Regions from separate parts of the Homo sapiens genome. Here regions 2 and 3 are each linked to region 1. The links are contacts of gene promoters, found by promoter capture Hi-C in blood cells and fetal thymus (Javierre and others, 2016). All regions are on one chromosome and are shown on one strand. Each heading gives the region's core, a stretch centred on a gene start or on the middle of the fragment in contact. The rest is flanking DNA. Distances are from core to core; before and after follow the strand shown. Region 1 holds the start of SNHG4 (small nucleolar RNA host gene 4). Region 2 overlaps CTNNA1 (catenin alpha 1). Region 3 overlaps CTNNA1 (catenin alpha 1).

What was found. Contacts are between HindIII fragments. The CHiCAGO score rates a contact against its expected background, and 5 or more counts as called.
Region 2: a fragment that was not itself captured here is called in contact with the fragment with the promoter of SNHG4 in region 1 in 2 of 17 cell types (endothelial precursors and megakaryocytes); the score reaches 5.8 in endothelial precursors.
Region 3: a contact is called between a fragment that was not itself captured here and the fragment with the promoter of SNHG4 in region 1, in 1 of 17 cell types (endothelial precursors). The highest score is 5.7, in endothelial precursors.

The regions. Positions count from the first base shown.
Region 1 is chr5:139,272,305-139,275,730 of GRCh38, reverse strand. It overlaps SNHG4 (small nucleolar RNA host gene 4), which reads right to left and starts at 1,630. Exons shown (of 7, transcript NR_182757.1): 1 at 1,570-1,630; 2 at 1,117-1,367. It overlaps LOC124901081 (a long non-coding RNA gene), which reads left to right. Exons shown (of 4, transcript XR_007058956.1): 4 at 2,077-2,664. It also overlaps a transcript of MATR3 not described here. RefSeq lists a silencer at 1,557-1,636 and an enhancer at 1,927-2,276. The HindIII fragment of the contact is 4,492 bases long and covers 1-3,426 here.
Region 2 is chr5:138,845,741-138,849,166 of GRCh38, reverse strand. All of the region lies in intron 7 of CTNNA1 (catenin alpha 1), which reads right to left. Among named protein-coding and RNA genes, the nearest start is that of LRRTM2, 28 kb to the left of the region's middle. The HindIII fragment of the contact is 971 bases long and covers 1,112-2,082 here.
Region 3 is chr5:138,932,037-138,935,462 of GRCh38, reverse strand. CTNNA1 (catenin alpha 1) reads right to left here. Exons shown (of 18, transcript NM_001903.5): 17 at 2,751-2,885; 18 at 429-1,661. The coding sequence ends at 1,374. Among named protein-coding and RNA genes, the nearest start is that of LRRTM2, 58 kb to the right of the region's middle. The HindIII fragment of the contact is 3,561 bases long and covers 1-3,426 here.

The DNA of each region.
Region 1 (3,426 bases), core at 381-2,880:
GGGCTCAAGTGATTCTCCTACCTCAGCCTCCTGAGTAGCTGGGACTACAGGCGTGAGCGAGCACACCAAGCTGAATGGGGATATTACTAATAGTCCTCTGTAAATAGGGTGGTTGGGAGGCTTAAGTGAAATATAAGCTAATCCTCAGGATAATGTCTGGTATAGTGTGGGCACTCAGTAAACACCTGAGGAGCTACATTCCAAAAAAGGCTTAGATGGTGAATATGAGTGAGTAAAAAGGGAAAAGTTATCCAGTGAGAGAAACGGGCAGTGAACAGTGGGAACACTGGATAGAGGAGGGCCTCCAATACTTCCTGAAGGACAATAAAAACAGCACTTGGAAAAATAACTGCAGTATTGGATGTGAGGGGAATTGGAGGCAGTAGTCGTGCCAAGACCTCAACTACTGATTAAAAGCAATAACGAAAATGTTAGGCCGGGCGCGGTGGCTCACGCCTGTAATCCCAGCACTTTGGGAGGCTGAGGCTGGCGGATCACGAGTTCAGGAGATCGAGACCATACTGGCTAACACGGTGAAACCCCGTCTCTACTAAAAATACAAAAAAAAAAAAAAAAAAAAAAAAAAAATTAGCCGGGCGTGGTGGCGGGCACCTGTAGTCCCTGTTACTCGGGATGCTGAGGCAGGAGAATGGCATGAACCCAGGAGGCGGAGGTTGCAGTGAGCCGAGATCGCCCTACTGCACTCCAGCCTGGGCAACAGAGCAAGACTCCGTTAAAAAAAATAAAAATAACCAAAATGTTTGCACAAATGATAATAAATATTCCTACACAGTCACCATTTTTTTTTAGACGGAGTCTTGCTCTGTTACCAGGTTGGAATGCAGTGGTGCTATCTCGGCTCACTGCAATCTCTGCCTCCCGGGTTCAAGCGATTCTCCTGCCTCAGCCTCCCGACTTCAGGCGTGCGACACCACGCCCAGCTAAGTTTTGTATTTTTAGTAGAGACGGGGTTTCACCATGTTGGCCAGGATGGTCTTCTTCTCTTGACCTCGTCATCCGCCCGCCTCGGCCTCCCAAAGTGCTGAGATTACAGGCGTGAGCCACGCGCCCGGCCTCACAGTCACCATTATAATTTATGTAAGGCTAAGATCATACCTTTTTCCAGCCATCCCCAAATTTCACTCCTGACTTCCTCCAAATAATTTAGAGGAACAGGAAAATGAGTAGAGAGGGTTCATTGTTCGCTGGGTCTAAAAACAGATCTAAAAATAGCCTGCCCCTTTCAAGGCTCGGGTTAAAGGGGCTGACTCAGTTCCACCGGACATTTGTTCCTCACAAACCTTCCAAAGTCCCTGCCTCTGGCCCTGGGAGATCGAGGCTCTCGGAGTCAGGCTCTATGGGACTCCCTAGGGAGAAGAGGGAAGAGGGATGGTAGAAAAACAGGGGACGACTCCGAGGCCCAAGTCTCTTTCAGATGCCCTCCAAGCTCGGGATCACGAGGGGACGAACCCCAATTTCGTCCCGTGCCCCGGCAGAAGCCACCCTGCACTGCTTCTTTCCCCAGGCTGGGAAACCTCCAAGGACTCTCCCCTCTGGGTCCTTACTCACGCGCACGTGTTCGGAGCTCCGCAGGGCGCAGCAGCACCGGCAGAGGCCGGAGGGGAAAGGGCAGCCGGGAGCCGAGGGGAACCCCGCCCCGGGGCGGCTACTGGGCGTGGCTTCGGTGGGCGGGGCCCTTGACCCCGCCTAGGAAAGGCCGGGCTTTAAAAAAAAAAAAAAATGCGAGTGCGGTGGCAGAGGTGAACCTGCTTCTTAGAGGAGAGAAGGGCTGGGGTCTGAGCAATGGCTGGGTTTGTTGGACTCCCATCCCATCTCTTAAGGGTAGAAGGGGCGCATAGTTCGCAGCTGCTCAGGAGAGAATCTGTGTGTCCTAGTGGAGCCAGGCTTCCTGCCTGCCCACACTGAGCGCCCCCGGAACGCTGGTTCCGCTCACGAGCGTGGCGCCTTTCCGTTGCTGCAGGCCCAGCCCACGCTTTTGCGCTTCCCACGCATATCCTTTTTCTGGCTTTCTGCGGCAGCGCTGTCATTCGGCTAATGGATCGCTCACCCACGCAGGTCACCTTGGTCCACGGTCTTCGGGATCTTTCCAGGAGGTTTTCGAATAGATTAAGCCAGTCACTCCTACTGCTGACCTCTGCAGGACCGGCCTCCCTAGTGCCCTGCAGTGGGATTCTTCGCCGAGCTGCAGTAACTGAAGAACACTGGCTTTCTCTGCTAGACTTGCCCTGCACCATGGCACAGTCAGGCAGAGTCCTTGGTCAGGACAGACTGCCTGCAAGGCTACCAGGATTTCTTTGGAACACTAAAACTTCCCTCTCCCAGTGGCTAGAGTCCATATGATTCTGCTGGGGTCCAGAGTGGAAGGCCTACAAGCAGTGATTCCCAACTCCATTCTCTAATTCCCCCAAATTCCTTTCCGACACCCGCCCCCCAACAACAACAACCAATCCTGTAAGTTTTGCTGATCTCTTGCACCTGGCACCATTGCCAGGTGAACCCCTGGGAACCAAGCCACTGCCCTTGGCATCTGCCAACATGTTTCATTGTCTATTTCCTCAGCTCTTTCATAATGAAAAAGGTATGCTTCTTGTGCACCCCAACTCTTGCAGACCTCTCCTAAGAAAGCCCAGAGCCCCAGTTTGATTCCAGCAAGAGACCCTAGGCTGTAGGGCCAAAGAGCCACTGGAGGGGAAGTGGCAAGCTCAAATCCTCCCCAGTTTTGATGCAGTTGGACATAGGCTCTGGTTGGGAAAAGGCTTACATAAATACAGTAATTTAAAAAGTCACATGACCAGTGCTGGGCTGGTAGGCAGGAGCTCTGCTTTGCAGTTAAATAGGAATGTGGCTGAAGACTGCTGCCATAATCAATGCCCACATCCGGCTGTCACAGCGTGTTCATAAAGGAAGGTTATGAGAGCTATAAAACCAGGCAGATTGGGTGGGTAATTGTCCTACCGAGCTCTGCTAAAGGAGAAATTGCATTGGCATCTCATATATTTCGCTTTCTTTCCTTCCAAACACACAAAGTGGAGAGGGCAGAGCTACCCTGAAGATTCATGAAAAGGAAAGATAGGGTGTGTGTGTGTGTGTGTGTGTGTGTGTGTATGTGTGTGTGTGAATGTGCATGTGTGCTTTCAGAGAAGAGACAAGAAGTAACTGAGGACAGGGAGCTATGCAGACCTTTGGGGAGAGAGGGACCAATAATCTGGTGATGACTGGATTCAGATTAGTCCAGGTAGAAGGCAGGATTTATGTGGAAGGCCAGCCATTATAAATAAGGCTGTGAGGTAAGCCATATTTTCATGTCCTGTTGAACAAGTGGTCAACTTTTTGGGCTATAGGTCTTTCAATGACCTTTGGAGAAAAACCTAGATGAAGATTTTGTTTCCAACTTAAAAATCCTTC
Region 2 (3,426 bases), core at 348-2,847, 430 kb after region 1:
AAGCCAAAACCAGTAGGAAAGAATAATCAAGAAATTTTATACAGAGATGCCTATACAAAACTCAATTCAGAGAATGAACACTGACGATCAGAGCCATGCTTCCCCATGCCAGATAACTCAGAATTAACAATAAAGAAGTATGCCAGGCAGGGCAAGGTGGCTCACGCCTGTAATCCCAGCAATTTGGGAGGCCGAGGCAGGCATATCATGAGGTCAGGAGTTCGAGACCAGTCTGACCAACATGGTGAAACCTTGTCTCTACTAAAAATACAAAAATTAGCTGGGTATGATGGTGCATACCTGTAATCCCAGCTACTCAGGAGGCTGAGGCAGGAAATCACTTGAACCCAGGAAGTGGAGGTTGCAGTGAACCAAGCTCACGCCACTGCACTCCAGCCTGGGCGACAGAGAGAGACTCTATCTCAAAAAAAAGTATGCCAGGCCCAATCAAAATGCACATTTTAATAGTAAAGAGAGCATATTATGAATCTAGGAATAAAGCTACCAACTTCAGGCAAGACAGTTAAGACAAATGGAGAGCAATAAAATAAGCTATGCAGCACAGTCAACAGGGACACAGTCTTTAGACATTATTATCAGAATACACATGTAAAAGGGAAAATTCTCCAAATGTATTTGACCATGACTGTAAAAGAAGAGAGAAGAAAAGGGGGAGCAGAGAGAGAACTAAGCTCTTGGAGGAGAATGATAAATGCAATGGCTCTATGAAACTACTGGAAATCAGAAGAGCTAAAAAAACAAACAAACAAAAAAAAGAGGACTTAAAGTGTGAACAATTCAAATATAAATTATTAGTTATAGCAATGTTAATAGTAACACTAGTATTAACAGCAGTGGTTGTGCCTTACATGACTCTTTTCTATACACTTGCAACCATGATGGGTGCATAGGCACCATTATCATCCCCAGTTCCCAGTTGAGGAAACATAGACTTGGGAAAGCTTAGGTAACTTTTCATGCTCAGTGCAGCTGTCAAGACTAGAACAGTCTCTCCATAGAAAATCCCTTCAATAACAAATTTATCTTTATGCCAACAGCATATATGCATTAGTAAATGTAGTTCAAACATCTCTGGAAGGAAAGCAAAGCTTCAAATTAGGTAGAATTTATTACCCAAGAAGCAAGACCCCTGAATCTCAGCTAGGTAAAGAAGAACTTAAAGAAACAGAGGTGCCACTTGATTTATCTCTAGAAACACAGGTAATTATAAGTGCTCCCAACAAGTTCAAAACTAACAAAAGATATACTGGCCTATACAATCTCTGCTACTTTCAGCTTTTACTCAGTACCACATAAAGAAACACAAACTTAATGACTATTAAGCTCCAAAGCAACAGAAATGGGAGTTGCCCAAATGTTTCCTTTTTGTAATGCATCAAAAGTTTACTTGGGGCAGCAAAAATATGCTCTATCTCCTAGTACATCAATTTAGAGAGAAATGCCCCTCCCCCAAAATATGCCCCACAAGCAACTGCCCACACTGATCTAAGGGTGACCACCTCTACCGTAACACATCTTTCTTACTTCCTGCCACAGTGCCTGAAATCCCACCATCAGGTTTCTCTTCAAGAATTTTCTTTTCAAAAGGAAAGTAAATATCCCCCGAATAAAGCAACAATAAAAAGTGGACAGGGGACATTATATTTGAATTCTTCAACTAATACTTTGACTAAGAAATTATGACATCGGCCTGCCACTCATGCCTCTAATCTCAGCACTCTGGGAGGCTGAGGCAGGAGGATCACTTGAGCCCAGTAGTTCGAGACCAGCTTGGACAATGTAACCAGACCCCTATCTCTAAAAAAACAGAGGGAGGGAGACAGGGAAGGAGACAGGGAGGGAGGGACTACGCCGGCTTTAAAAAGGAATGTTGTCAGTCTCCTCTTCCCTCCAAAAGGTGAAAATCCATGCTGTTGAACTACAAGTACTACCCAATAGAAGCAAAAAAGTAAAAACCTATTTTTAAGTAAATAAGTTAATGTTGCTAAAACAAACCACTTCACTTAAAACTTCTGCTACATCTTTTTTTGCAATTCCTTCAAGTGGGCCTAGAACAAAGCTTTCAGATACTACCATGTATTTAAGAGTGCCAATATTTCAACCAAAATACCCAACCCCAAAGCTCTGACTGCAAATAATAATCCAAACATGTAATTAATAGAAAAATTAGTTCCTTTTCATAGTTCTCAGAGCTGTATAATCAAATTCTAGGTGATTATATGCAGAATCTTCTAATAATCCAAACCATTCAAAAATCTTTAAGGGCTAACAATGTACATAATGTAGAGATCTAACACTTTTTCAGAGAGAAGACACCCTGCCCCCAAATGAAAAACACTCAGCTTGAAATGACACCTGTTCAGTATAATTTGAGGGGTTTTTTTTTAACTATTTTTAATTCAGCAATCCTTCATTCAACATTTGTATAATTTAAATGAAATAGTCACAGAAAATTGTAGGCCATTAGTTTGTCCCATACAAAGTCAGAAGATTAAAGAGGTCAACAGTGTACACAATATAGGATTTAATGTAGACCATGTAATTCTGGTGGCAATAACAGACACAGGCCGTGTTTCAAAATGGGAAAAATACTCTTTACTTCATGTAAGATGAACAAATTGCCTGAACTCCTACAGGAAATATAATTTAAAATACATATCACATCATTAGCAAACTGACATGTGAAACGCATGTAAATATCTTTAAATAATTTTACAAATATATAAGATAATTATCTACTGATACAGATTATATACTGATATAGGTCACCTAAAATTCACCCATTGATAGTGTACAATTTAATGTTTTTTTGGTTTATTCACAGATATGTACAACCATTACTACAGTCAATTTTAGAGCATTTTATCATCTCCTAAAGAAACCCAGTACCCTTGGGCCAGGCGCAGTGGCTCGCGCCTGTAATCCCAGCACTTTGAGAGGCCGAGGAGGGTGGATCACCTGAGGCCAGGAGTTCAAGACCAGCCTGGCCAAGATGGTGAAACCCTGTCTCTAAAAGTATGAAAATTAGACCCTGTCTCTAAAAGTATGAAAATTAGCCGGGCGTGGTGGTGGGCGCTTGTAATCCCAGCTACTTGGGAGGCTGAGGCAGGAGAATCGCTTGAACCTAGGGGGCGGAGGTTGCAGTGAGCCGTGATCGCGCCACTTCACTCCAGCCTGGGCCAGACAGCGAGAATCTGTCTCAAAAAAACAAAAAACAAAAAAACAAAAAAAACCTGTACCCTTTAGCTATCATTCCCTGACCCTATATCTATATGTGAATATTTAAGTGCTAAACTGTTAAGTACCCAGGACATGGCAATCAAGTACCCAGGACATGGCAATCATACTCGGTTATAAGCTTAAAAGCTCTAAATTTGTTGTCCTTTTCTTAACAGTAATTTAGTA
Region 3 (3,426 bases), core at 506-3,005, 340 kb after region 1:
GGGGATGCCAGCTGGGAAGGATCATGGGGTTAAGGATGGTTTTCATCTCGAAGGCCACTATCAATCAATCATCATAGCTTGGTATGTATGTGTGACGGGAAGGATGCAGAAGGGATATGCTGACAGAAGGACGCAGGAGAGGGGTCAGCTATAATGAAGACAGGGATGCCTCCGAGGTTGACATGAACCTCAAGGAATGGACATGTGAATTCCCAAGGTGGGGGTGCAGGGTGGGGCACTCAATAGGACAACGGGCATGGCCCTCCCTGATGGGTTGGCACGAGCCGTGCAGCCTAGAGCCACAGACAGTTTCCCTCCCGGGCATCCCCATCCTGGAAGAGACGGACACCGGGAGGGCCCAGAGCACCACAGATACTGCGGGCAAATCTATGACTTGAAGGCAGAGAAGACGACTTTGGGCTCTTGGATGTCGTGGTTTCATAGTGGACTTTATTGGGAAAAGTTAGTTAGTGTAAAAAACATTCAAATTAATTCATAAAATTTAAATAAGGTGATAGTAAATTATACCTTGTAGTTAATAGTAATCAATCAATCAATCACTACAGTAATCACAAATAAGGTAAAGTCTAAATTACTGCCTTAGCAAACACTATGTTGTCAGGTTTTTCTGCTGCAAGCCCAAGGCGGGAAACACTGCAGTTATTAGAAGTGAGCCCAATGATGAATTTGCATTTGAAGCTGGGAGAAAGAGGAAAAAAAGTGTGTTCTGATTATGGCATCGAGACACTGTAGCCTAAAAAAGCAACTTTATTAATGTCCTGCAGCAGCGTACATTAGTAATTATAACAATGCATTAAAATTTTCATTTCATGTCATAGAGAATCAGTTTTCTTCATGATACATTATGTTTTACTGAGTGAGTTTGTCCCTCCAGAGACCTTTCTGGGAACATGCCTTCTCCAGGGACTGCTTCCTAAGATGCCCAGGTTGCTTACCACAGGTCATCTTTGGTCATTTAAAAGCAGTCAAGCTGTCTGGACTGCACCCTCTCAACTGAAGTTGAGCCAAATTCCCTTCTCTCAAACCCTAACGCCGCCATCACTAAGAGAATGGGCATCTCGGCTTGGTCAGAGCATTACTAACAAGCTAATGTGGGATTCTCTTTGGTTATGAATTTTTATTTTTATTTAAGCATACAAAAAATACAGCTAGAAGTAGGCTCCTGCATTCTAAAAGCATTTTTAATCAACTTAAACTATGTTCTTGGAAAATTCACCACCTGGACTGGTTCAGTCTGCCCATTTCCCTGTGGAATCTAGTATCAGTGTTGTATTTAGCAAATTCATTTGAGTGACGAACAGTGACTGATATTCAGGAGCCCCGAGGGGTGGGGGCGGCCGGCCTGGGCAGACTTAGATGCTGTCCATAGCTTTGAACTCGCTGAGGGCCTGCACCGGGTTCACGTGCTTCTTCTGAGATGCCCGTTTAATCTTGGTCTGTGTCTCATCCTGTTTCTCTCTCTTCACCAATGGCTTTTTCTCTGGTGCCTTCATCTTCCATGACACAGCAGGAAGGTTGAGGGAAGCCATACCCTGTGACTTTTGGTATTTGGTAGAGGCGACGTAGGATGCCTTCACTGTCTGCACCACAGCATTCATCAAGTTCTTGGCTGCCTGGATCAGGGACATGGCGCTGTCCACCTACGAGGCAGACAGGGGTGGTAAGAAGCACCGGCCTGACCTCCAGCCTCGTGGACACAGGTGGGCTGTGCTTGAAGGGGAGCCCCCTACTCCTCTGCAAGACCAGGGCCTGGGCAGGTCGCAGAGGATTGGGCAGCAGCCTGTTCCTGAAGAACACCCTCAACGGCTGCTCTTATCTAAATAGCCTGGAAGCGCCTGCCCTCAGACCCTTTGGAGAAGACATGAGGCAACCTCGCCTTGCTCACCCCCACCCCTCAGCAAGTGTTTATTCACTCAAACCAACTGGAAGTCACTGTAAGTGATCCCAGAGCTGTAAGCACGTGGGGGAGGAGAAGCAGGAATCGAGACAGGGATGTTTATGGCAAAGCAGATGAGCAAATGGTCTCAATATGTTCAATATAAGAAGTGTTTCTTTTAAAGGAAATTCAGTGGGATTAAGAGAAGCCATGGAGGCTCGGTGGACCCCAATCCACTCAGCAAACCTCTTCTTTCCCCTGCCCTAGGTGAGAAAGGCCTCAGAACTGTGATGTGGTAAAAAGAAAGAGACGCTACCCAAGCACTCTGAGGAGTGAAGGGCTTTTGAGAAAACACCCTATCTATGTCTACTCTTAATTCCTCTCTGGGGGAAGAAAAGGAAGTTTTGTTTTGTTTTGTTGTTTCGTTTTGTTTTGAGACAGTCTTGTTCTGTTGCCCAGACGGGAGTGCAGTGGTGCCATCTCGGCTCACTGCAACCTCCATCTCCCAGGCTCAAGTAATTATTGTGTCTCAGCCTCCCAAGTAGCTGGGACTTACAGGTACCTGCCACCACGCCCGGTCCCAAGGAAGATTTTTAAAAATTCCTACCCAGTGAGTGGCCAGCAAAGGGGAGGAGGCCAGCCTTTCAGCCCTTGCAGTGCCCCGCAGGTGTCACAGTTCTACAGGGAACAGATGATGGACAGACCTTGGTCTCCAGAGACTGGGACAGGACTTGGAGTTTCTGCACAGCACACTTTCCCAGGGCAGGTGTTTATGCGGATAGGAGGTGACTTTCATTTCTGACAAGGGTCAGCACGTTCCCACTGGCCCTCTTTTTGTTCAGCTAATGCTTACCCCAGAGACAACAAGCTCCCCGCCGAGATTCTGCACCTCGGCCTTGACCTTGCTGCAGATGTTCAGCTGGTGGCAGTAGAGGGCGATGCGTTGCAGGTAGGCCAGCAGGTCCTGCTTGCAAGCCGAGTCGGGGCACTGAAGAGAGAGCAGGCTTAACACCAAGTATCCTGGCCTGGCCCAAGCACCCCCGACCCCACGGCTGTTTCTGAAAGGTTCAGTGTGGCACTCACATGCTTCCTCTCCTCTTGCTGGAGCAAAATCACCCAATTACCTGAGGCAGTCACAGCCCTTGCCTACACTCTGCTTGGGGATGGAGGCGGGTGAGCTGATGGAAGTCGTCCATGGGACCCTGACTGCGCCGCATGGCACTGGTTGTATAGCCAAGGCCTTCTGAGCCTCCCACTGACTTCCCTCCTATGACGGCGGGGAAACCACCCTGGCCAAGGATCCCCTCACCCCAAACGGCAGGGTGGAGGCCCATGCCCCTCGAGGTGAGAACAAGCCGGCTCAGCAAGCAGGAGCCTGGCTATGGAGAAAAGTCCAGATGTTTTTAGCTAAGTAAACAAATAGTTAACTCTTCTGCTCTGAGGCACTTTGCGTTATTAATGCCTGATGACAAAAGCCACTCACTGCAGGCTGAGGTGGAAGACAAGTGAGTAAAGTAAAGCAAGAAAAA